Regions from separate parts of the Homo sapiens genome. Here regions 2 and 3 are each linked to region 1. Evidence: promoter capture Hi-C in 16 types of primary human blood cells and fetal thymus (Javierre and others, 2016). All regions are on one chromosome and are shown on one strand. The core of a region is centred on a gene start or on the middle of the fragment in contact, and the rest is flanking DNA. Distances in the headings are between cores, read along the strand shown.

The links. The method cuts DNA at HindIII sites, captures the fragments that hold promoters and counts their contacts. A CHiCAGO score of 5 or more calls a contact.
Region 2: a fragment that was not itself captured here is called in contact with the fragment with the promoter of GAD1 in region 1 in 1 of 17 cell types (total B cells); the score reaches 8.7 in total B cells.
Region 3: the fragment with the promoter of HOXD12 here is called in contact with the fragment with the promoter of GAD1 in region 1 in 2 of 17 cell types (total B cells and naive B cells); the score reaches 17.6 in total B cells.

Annotation. Positions count from the first base shown.
Region 1 is chr2:170,815,446-170,818,606 of GRCh38, forward strand. It overlaps GAD1 (glutamate decarboxylase 1), which reads left to right and starts at 1,442. Exons shown (of 17, transcript NM_000817.3): 1 at 1,442-1,603; 2 at 3,084-3,161. The coding sequence starts at 3,147. GAD1-AS1 (GAD1 antisense RNA 1) reads right to left here. Exons shown (of 4, transcript NR_197761.1): 1 at 2,941-3,161; 2 at 2,273-2,470; 3 at 1,409-1,587; 4 at 1-1,040. RefSeq lists a silencer at 1,257-1,336 and enhancers at 1,424-1,593, 2,833-3,161. The HindIII fragment of the contact is 11,655 bases long and covers 1-3,161 here.
Region 2 is chr2:176,073,183-176,076,677 of GRCh38, forward strand. No RefSeq gene overlaps it. Among named protein-coding and RNA genes, the nearest start is that of EVX2, 9.0 kb to the right of the region's middle. RefSeq lists an enhancer at 2,160-3,495. The HindIII fragment of the contact is 1,123 bases long and covers 1,208-2,330 here.
Region 3 is chr2:176,098,101-176,101,303 of GRCh38, forward strand. It overlaps HOXD12 (homeobox D12), which reads left to right and starts at 1,695. Exons shown (of 2, transcript NM_021193.4): 1 at 1,695-2,275; 2 at 2,422-3,203. The coding sequence starts at 1,702. The coding sequence ends at 2,660. RefSeq lists enhancers at 1-8, 1,550-2,282. The HindIII fragment of the contact is 6,365 bases long and covers 1-3,203 here.

The sequences.
Region 1 (3,161 bases), core at 192-2,691:
GCCCAGGGCGGACCCTTCGATCTCCCTTATGGAACTCTCGGTAATTTATAATATTTTTGTGTGTGTTTCCATTGTGTTGTGGTGAAAGGCGATAAGGCATTCAAAGAAAACGGACGGGCCTCCGCTGAACCAGTGAGGCCCCAGACGTGCGCATAAATAACCCCTGCGTGCTGCACCACCTGGGGAGAGGGGGAGGACCACGGTAAATACCAGTAAAGGAATCACTGCCTACACGGTGTCACCCAGACACGCACAGACATCAACATTTTTGCCCTAAAGAAAAAAACTGGGGGAGAAGAAAGGGGAGAACTTAAACTAGTGACAGGGCGGTGAGGGAAGGCATGAAGAGGCAAGCCGGCGCGTAACCGTCTGGCCAGCAGCTCCAGGTGTGGGCTCCGCTCGGGCGCTGGCGGAGAGACCCGGGAGCGCAGGGCCTCTCCGTCTCTGGGCTCTTGGCGCCCTCTGGTGGGAATTTCTCTTTCAACGCATTTTTACGGCGAGGGGCTTCTCCCAACGCAGCGGTTCTTTTAACTACGCCTAAATATTGCAAAGGGAGAATCCTTAAAGCGCGTGAAATCGAAGGGGGAGCGGGCCAGGGCAAGGGGGGCTGGTCCGCCCCTTCCGGGCACCTCTGTGCTCGGGTGCCCCATGCGCGTGCAGCGGCGCTCGTGCGTGTCATCAACCTTCAAACGTGATTAATCAGGAGGCCTTCTTTTCCCATCACCAAGGGGGCCAAAGCGAGGAGCGAGCGCATAGCAAAAGGGACGCGGGGTCCTTTTCTCTGCCGGTGGCACTGGGTAGCTGTGGCCAGGTGTGGTACTTTGATGGGGCCCAGGGCTGGATGAGGAAACTGTAATTCCTCCATGGTCTAAGAGGTCTCCCCTCATTTCTGCCTCCTTTGCGGTTACAACAATCCCAGCTCCGTAGAGAGCCAACGAGGACACGACCCAAAGCGCGCTTTCGCTCAAGGAAGCGTCGCAGGGTCACAGATCTGGGGGAACCCCGGGGAAAAGCACTGAGGCAAAACCGCCGCTCGTCTCCTACAATATATGGGAGGGGGAGGGGAAATGGGAGAGGGGAAAGGAGGGGAGGGAAGAAGAAACGCTCAGAAAGGCAGAATTCTTCGTAGGAATTATCTTTTCCCTCCTCTCACCCGACAGCCTGCCTATTTCCAAAGGAAAAAAAAAAAGCGTGTTGAGTACGTTCTGGATTACTCATAAGACCTTTTTTTTTTCCTTCCGGGCGCAAAACCGTGAGCTGGATTTATAATCGCCCTATAAAGCTCCAGAGGCGGTCAGGCACCTGCAGAGGAGCCCCGCCGCTCCGCCGACTAGCTGCCCCCGCGAGCAACGGCCTCGTGATTTCCCCGCCGATCCGGTCCCCGCCTCCCCACTCTGCCCCCGCCTACCCCGGAGCCGTGCAGCCGCCTCTCCGAATCTCTCTCTTCTCCTGGCGCTCGCGTGCGAGAGGGAACTAGCGAGAACGAGGAAGCAGCTGGAGGTGACGCCGGGCAGATTACGCCTGTCAGGGCCGAGCCGAGCGGATCGCTGGGCGCTGTGCAGAGGAAAGGCGGGAGTGCCCGGCTCGCTGTCGCAGAGCCGAGGTGGGTAAGCTAGCGACCACCTGGACTTCCCAGCGCCCAACCGTGGCTTTTCAGCCAGGTCCTCTCCTCCCGCGGCTTCTCAACCAACCCCATCCCAGCGCCGGCCACCCAACCTCCCGAAATGAGTGCTTCCTGCCCGCCCTAGTCCCTGCTCTCCACGGGTGCGCTGCGCAGGGACCCCCCCCCCCCCGCCTCCCTCGTCACTCTTCTTATCCCTGCCCTCCGGATTCACGCCCCGGGGAAGCACGGAGGCTGAGGCTCTAGTTGAAGTGGGGCAAGAGCGATTTTCCCTTGAGCTTCCATGCTGCGAGCGCCTGTCCCTCCAAAGGGCGCCTGGGCAGCAGCAGCCGAAGGCGCTACTAGGAACGGTAACCTGTTACTTTTCCAGGGGCCGTAGTCGACCCGCTGCCCGAGTTGCTGTGCGACTGCGCGCGCGGGGCTAGGAGTGAGGTCGGAGGGAGGGTGTGGAGGCGATGGCCGGTGGGCCCTTCTCTGTGGGGTCCTCGATCTACCCAGATTAGCCCGCAATCTCTCTGTCCCGGGGCCTTCGGGCGCCATCGCGCCAGCGCCGAGAGTCGAGCAGGGGCGCCGCGCAAGATCTTTGTCCGCCGCCTCCTGCGCGCTGCGCGCAAGTTCGTTTCCCCGGTGACGTTCCCCATGCTTACTTACCCCACCCTCTCTGGATCTGTACCGCGAGAAATCTGGGGTCCTCAGGGGGCTAGGTAGAGGAGAAACGCTGAAACCGGACCGAAACCTCGCCCTAGGCTTAGCGATGGCTAAAAACCGGCTGGGATAAGAGGGAGGCAAGCAACATTCCGACTCGCTGCTTTCTGGCTGTCTGGAGTGCAAGGTGACTGTGGTTCTTCTCTGGCCAAGTCCGAGGGAGAACGTAAAGATATGGGCCTTTTTCCCCCTCTCACCTTGTCTCACCAAAGTCCCTAGTCCCCGGAGCAGTTAGCCTCTTTCTTTCCAGGGAATTAGCCAGACACAACAACGGGAACCAGACACCGAACCAGACATGCCCGCCCCGTGCGCCCTCCCCCCGCTGGCCCACACGCCGGCTGCTGAGTGCCCAATGGGGCTTGTAGCGGCTCGGCTGGAAAATCGCTCACTGAGCGCTCCCCTGTGCTCCTAGCCTAGTCCCCCACACCCTTGCGTCTTGTACTGGCCTTGGACCCCCACCCCGACCCCGACCCCGCCTCGTCTCGGCGCTTCACTCCAGGTCGCGCCGATGCACCGCCAGACTCGAGAGCGGCCCAGGGCTACGCTCCCTGCGCCCCAGTACCGGAGCTAGCGCGCACGTCTCCTCCGCTGCCCCCACCCCTGCGCACCCCTACCAGGCAGGCTCGCTGCCTTTCCTCCCTCTTGTCTCTCCAGAGCCGGATCTTCAAGGGGAGCCTCCGTGCCCCCGGCTGCTCAGTCCCTCCGGTGTGCAGGACCCCGGAAGTCCTCCCCGCACAGCTCTCGCTTCTCTTTGCAGCCTGTTTCTGCGCCGGACCAGTCGAGGACTCTGGACAGTAGAGGCCCCGGGACGACCGAGCTGATGGCGTCTTCGACC
Region 2 (3,495 bases), core at 519-3,018, 5.3 Mb after region 1:
CCCAAGGCTGGTTTTGAGGTGGCAGTTAATTACTAGCCCGGAAAGCCGAAGCCCCGGAGCCGATGTCTGGGCTGACAGGGTTCCCTCCTCAGCCTCGGGGCAGTCAGACGATTCCTAACAACTTCTCCCAAGGAGGTAGATCCCTGTTTATCAACCAGCACACCCCGTCGGCCCTTTTCTTTGGTAAACACTCTTTAAACAAACAGCCCATCCGCCCTGTTATTGCCAAAGCTGCTCAGAGCTTTAATAAAAGCCCAGGGAAGATCAGAACCCGCGTCCAAGGCTGCTGCTTAATCCAATGAAGGCAATTTCCGAGGATAATTGCGAACATGTTTTAATGCATATGCATGAAAAAGGATTTTTTTTCTGAGAGACCAACTTTACATGCTTATGTAATTGATTGAGGCGCTGACCCGCTATTCAAAATGTTATTTGAGAACCATCACAATGCGTAAACTTGCAAATTGCCCAGCTTGTATCTGAATTAATACCTCATTCATCATCATTATGGGTTGATAAGTTAATTTAACCATTTCATTCTGCCTTAATGAGCTATAGTTAAATTAATGCCACATAATATATGAAAGTAACATTTAAATAGAAGCACTGGGCTGAGACAAGCCGAGGCTGCTGCTATTTGGGCTGAAATAAGGTGACATAAATCTTTTCTTCATTACAGGACCCAGTCTGCTCTACCAGCAGTTATGAAGTATTTATTCATTCACTTTCTTTTGCGAAGTTGCTTTGCCAAATAGCATAGGTAAATTATGTGAGCTTGTAAATAATGCCTGAGGATGTATTTATTAAAATAAGATTGGGGTGGAGGTGGGAGAATCTATAAAAAGCATTTTCACAGCATGCTTTCCCATCGCTCCAGGAAAACCAAGACCCCCACTGCCAGCCCTCCCCAACTTGGCTGGGAATACCACAGGGTCTGGAGGTCACTGGTTTTACTCCAAAGTGCCTGCTCTGAGTTCAAACCTCAGAAACACCAGCCTGCCCCTTTTCTCGTTTGCAGACTGGACTATCCTCCCAACCCACCCCCGCCACCACCCCTCCTCCCCTGGGTTTCCGTCACAGGCAGAGACACCTTGATTCTGGTTTTCCTAAGTCAGGGATGATGAGCTTAGTTGTGGATACTTTGCAAATTGGTGTAAAGGAAGCTGGAAGAGAGGGTGACCCTTCCCACCTCAGAAGTGGTTCAGGAAGCTTCCATGAGATTCTTTGGACCCAGACCTTAGGTCAGAGAAGCTGAGGTGAGAGTGGCTCCAAAGAAAGAGAAGGGATCAGGCCAAAAGGTCACTGAAGAAAGGGGAGGTGCCCCCAGGAGCCATAACCCCCTACATTTCTCCCTCTCTACTCCCAAGCCAGTCTTTTATTGGGATAAGTTATTTAAACTCAAGGGGAGTCTCTCCATCTGAGAGGGGGTGAGACAGGGCAGGCTTCGTGGGTGGGGATCTTTGTAGTCACACAGGGTGATGGGCTTAAAAGCCACCCCCCAGCTTGATTTGATGTTCTGTTGTTGCCCTCTTGAAATTCCTAATAACTTTTGAACAAGGGGCCCACATGTTCATTTTGCACTGGGACCAAAAATTGTGCAGCCAGTCCTAGGTGGAAAAAGAGGAAAGGAAAAGAGACTGACTTCTCATGACCACTGCAGGGCTCTATGTCCCCTTCTTTGGTTCCTTATGAGAGGAAACTCAGAATGCTACTTGAAAGTAGATCCCCACTTCTGATCAAATCATGGCTCATAACATTAACAGACAAATTATAGCGTGAGCCCTACGCTGCTCTCCAGGGTCTCCAGGTGTAGGCCTTTGATGACTGGGGTTTGGGAGAGCTGCCAATAAAGGTTCAGCCTAAAACCAAAATGCACTCCAGCTTCTGACCTGATCGGCCTAGGAAAAACGCTCAGGGCCTTGGCAAAGGAAAAGGTCACTTTCCTTCCTCAGAAAGCCCAGGAAAGGGACTCAAGTTTTAGCGGGAGGGAGAGTTATAAGTCTTCCTTTAGCGGATTCAGGATGGGTAGGATTGAAAGGACACCTTTCCTGGAATCCATAGCAGACTGAAGAATTTTGAGTTTGGAGCTGTGTGTAAGTAAGTAGATTTTTACAAAGGTAAATTTCTTTGCTTGTTCTTTTTGCACCTAAAAATCCAGGACACCGGAGCATTATGGGAAGAAAAAGAAATACAATTTATGGAAGAGAAGTAACAAGAGGAAAACCCTTACCATATATTTAGTCTTCATAACTTATTTAATTGCAGAGGGTAGCGATTGTTTCATCAAATGTTTCATATTTCTGAGTTTGGAGGGCGGGGATGCCAGGGTAAGCTTCCTCCGAGCGACTAAGGAGCAGCAACAAGCTCTGGAATTTCCTCTCGGGGTGGTCCGTTCCACCTTAAATAACTTGGGCTTTTTGGTCCCAAACGCGCCCTGTAGTTCAGGTTTTTTTGTCCTCCCTGCAGCAGCTGTCACCCTGCATTACTCGCAGTCAGCTAAATGAAACATTATTCTAAACATATGCATCGTAATCAGTTCGGTCACACTTACAAGAACACGCGTTAATAAGGCAATCAATCACCCTGGAACAAGCAAGTTGTTCTGTAACAGCTCATAAACAGTGTGTAATGAAGAATTGGAGGTTACCGTGACATGCGTTGATCAGATAATCAATGTCAAAGATGCGATGAATGTCAGTAAATGTAGTTTTCATGTCGTTTCTATAAAATCTTCAATTTACAACAAGCAGTTCAATTACCCAGAAAATACAGTCAATTAAATAGGGGTGATTGGACAGTAGGGGGGTGGATCATCGATCTTTGCATTTCTATCTCGCTAGTGGACATTTAATTTGGTTTTTCCATTAGCGACGAAATAAAGAAAATATAAAATATATTAAACAACCTACAGATTTATTTTCTTGTCAAAAACAATTCGGGCTTGATGACAGACAGTCTTCTGCATTTTATGATGAATTATTTTTTCATTCTTTGCACACTCGAGACAAAAAAAATGCTGTTATTTTGGACAGGGTTTTTTGGCCACTGTCTTTTTCCGTTTGCTGGCCCATCTATCTCAATGCTTTTGTTTTTAAGGGTTACAACCCCCGAGTTAGCAAAGAGCACCGAAAACCAGGGTGATACATCACCAGTCCAAATGTGCTGCTATAATCGTATTTCTTTAATGGGGGAGTTCAAGAAAAGAGAGAAGGGGAAAGAGAGAAAAGAATTTATCGAGGGGGAGGGAACCCTTGGGATTACTTCAGTATATATTTAACCAACCTGCAATTAAAGACGGTATCAGCTTGTATCATTTAGAGCTAATGCAATAATAATGGTAAATTACAGGCCAAAATGGCTTGTGATCGCAGCCTCTGTATTCCCAGTAGTGTCCTCATCGTTGTAATTAATGCCAGGGTGAGCAGTTGGAAAAAGAAAATTTCGAGGAAGGGACATCTTGGTTTTTAAATCGAATAGACTGCTTTGCACACACCA
Region 3 (3,203 bases), core at 445-2,944, 5.3 Mb after region 1:
CTTGGAAATAACGAGGAATCGTCGTGCACTGAAACGTGAGGAGAGACTGCAGGGACCCCTGGAGCTGGAGCTTTCGGGAGTAACGAAGCTGCAGCTCCTCGAAAATAGGATGGGTTCCCCAAAATAAGAGCTCTTAGGGATCTGAGGCTTGTATTCCCTTGAGTATCTAGGAACTGGGATTGCAGTTTGTGCTTGCCCCCACCTCCCAAGAGAGGACGAGAGCGAGTGAGTCTCTATGCCTGGGCTCCTAAGGAAACTCTCTGGCAGAGCCAGAGGAGCCCCAGACATCCCCACCCCCCCGTCCTCACTCCCTCTCTCCCCCCCACCAGAGCAGGAGGAAGAGGCCGATTGCGTTCCCCAGAGCCACCCAATTGGTCGCCATAACTCACACAATAAAGTGGCAGCGCGGCGGTCAGTCTTGCCCTCCGGCGGCGCCTGTGTGGTCTCAGTGCAGGAGCCCGCGATCTAACCAATTCCAGCTTGGCTCGGAGACCGAGGGTCCTGCTGCAGGCTGAGACTGGCGCCGGTCACCGGGTCTCCCAGGGTCTTGGGATCAGAGGCAGGAGGGGAGGACCCCTAGTCCTCTGGCCGGACTAGGCAAGAGGGCCAGCGACGGGGTCTGAGCACACCGCTCCCGGCTAAGAACTGCTGCCTTTCCCACTTCCCTGTTTGTCAGACCCGTGAACTCCCTATCCCCGGCACCCCTGGGGGCGCTGAGGCAAGGAACTCTGCTAGCCAGCTGCCTCCGAACGCCCGCTGTTCCCCGGCCAGGTGGTTCTGGCTCTTCTGCCTTTCCACACCCAGTCGGGGGAGTTCGTCCTGCTTTGCCCTCCACTTGGTGGATGGGGACACCTCGGAGTTCTGGTTTGCAGTGTGTAGTCCTGGAGAGGACTCCTGAAGATAAAAGGAATGTAGCCTTTGGCCACGATTGGTGGATCGAGCTGATGGGTTCCCTGGCGGACATTCTCCATGGACCTGTATGGCAATTTCCCTATGATCAGAGTTCTTAGCCATGGGGACACAAACCAGAAATAGTGTGGCCTCCTTCCTGGATCCCAAAATTGGGTAGTTTGTGATGCCCTTTTTGTGTCTGCGGCCTGGGACTGAGGGCTCAAGTAGCGAATGGGTCTTTGCTGCCAGATCCTCAGGCAGAGGTCTCTGGAGAAACCCTCTCTGTGGGAGTGATTGGGGTAAAAGTGACATTGCTCAGGCCAAGGGACAGAGCTCCTGGTGCCGCCGGACCGCGCCCTCTCCGGATAAGTCGAGAGGCGCCGGTTAATGGAAAATGCCTCCGCTGCAACTTAAAGCCGGTAGAAGCAAGCCGGGCCCAGAAAGCCTGCGGAAAACGAATCGCAAAGCCAATCACGACCAAGAAGAGTCCCAGGGGACACTTGGGCAGAGTCACCCTCTTGCCCGATGTCCCCAGCTGCTGAAGCCGGGCCTGGAAACCCGCAGACAGTTAGTCTTCGCTCAACCTGATTTGGCTCTGCTGGCAGCCTCGTCCTTCGCCATCGAACATTGCGGGTGTTATCATAATACTCTGAAGGGGGGGAAAACGGGTCGGGGGGATGTAGGCGGTGCTGAAATGACCGGCTTTGAAGAACCTGCAGGCAAAGTTTCGTCCAATCGTCTGAGCCTGTCCTCTTATTCCCGGTTGTAACTAAATACTGTTGCGAGCGCAGCCGAAGCCCTTTGTTGGAGATGTGTGAGCGCAGTCTCTACAGAGCGGGCTATGTGGGCTCGCTTCTGAATCTGCAGTCGCCAGACTCTTTCTACTTCTCCAACCTGAGGCCGAATGGCGGCCAGTTGGCCGCGCTTCCCCCTATCTCCTACCCGCGCGGCGCGCTGCCCTGGGCCGCCACGCCCGCCTCCTGCGCCCCCGCGCAGCCTGCGGGCGCCACTGCCTTCGGCGGCTTCTCGCAGCCCTACCTGGCTGGCTCCGGGCCTCTCGGCCTGCAGCCCCCAACAGCCAAAGACGGACCCGAAGAGCAGGCTAAGTTCTATGCGCCCGAAGCGGCCGCTGGGCCAGAGGAGCGCGGTCGTACCCGGCCGTCCTTCGCCCCCGAGTCTAGCCTGGCTCCTGCAGTGGCTGCTCTCAAAGCGGCCAAGTATGACTACGCTGGTGTGGGTCGTGCCACGCCGGGCTCCACGACCCTGCTCCAGGGGGCTCCCTGCGCCCCTGGCTTCAAGGACGACACCAAGGGCCCGCTCAACTTGAACATGACAGTGCAGGCGGCGGGCGTTGCCTCTTGCCTGCGACCTTCACTGCCCGACGGTAAACGGTGCCCATGCTCCCCGGGCCGGTTTGGGCCGGGATGGGAGGTGGGGTTCAAGGGAGAGTGTAAGGGGAGGTGAACCGCCTGGGGGCGGGCAATAGACAGAGTACGGGCTGGGTTGACGTGGGTTGGGGCTGTGTTGCAGGCCTGCCGTGGGGGGCGGCCCCGGGGAGGGCCCGCAAGAAGCGGAAACCCTACACGAAGCAGCAGATTGCGGAGTTGGAGAACGAATTCCTCGTCAACGAATTCATCAACAGGCAGAAACGCAAGGAATTGTCCAATAGGCTGAACCTCAGCGACCAGCAAGTCAAAATCTGGTTCCAGAACAGGCGTATGAAGAAGAAGCGCGTGGTGCTTCGGGAGCAGGCGCTGGCGCTCTACTAGCCGCGCGCGTGGCCAGGGCCGGGTTGGATCTGCCCTTTTGGACAGAGGCCTTGTTTGGGGAGGGGGATCTGGGGCTAAGGCTAAGGCTTTTCCTTCGGTTCCTTCTCTGCTGGCCCCAGAAGCCACCAAGAGATTTACAGACCAGGCCAGTTGGGCCTCCTTGCTTTCCTCAGTCCCTGAGAAGCCCGTGAGAAACGTGCGGAAGTACCAGTGCAACTCTGGCTGGCCTTAAGGCTTCCACGTTGGGGGACTGAGGCCAACTCTCCTTGCTCCTGGCTGGGGCATTTGCACCCACCGCTCATTCTTGCTCCCCGGTACCTGGATTTTTCTGTTTCCACCCAATTCGTTCTCCCTTTCCCCCTCTCTCCAGCCCCTTCAGCGTATAGCAGTCGCCTAGTTAGGGCTCAGAGTGGAAGGCCTCCTGAGGGAATGGAAAGGACTGTGGGTACAATTAGGTCTCTGCAGCAGAAGCCCTTTGTGGCAAGGCCAGGATCTTCACTCTGGAGAAAGGAAAGGGCACCATCCACCCTCCACCCTCCTGTC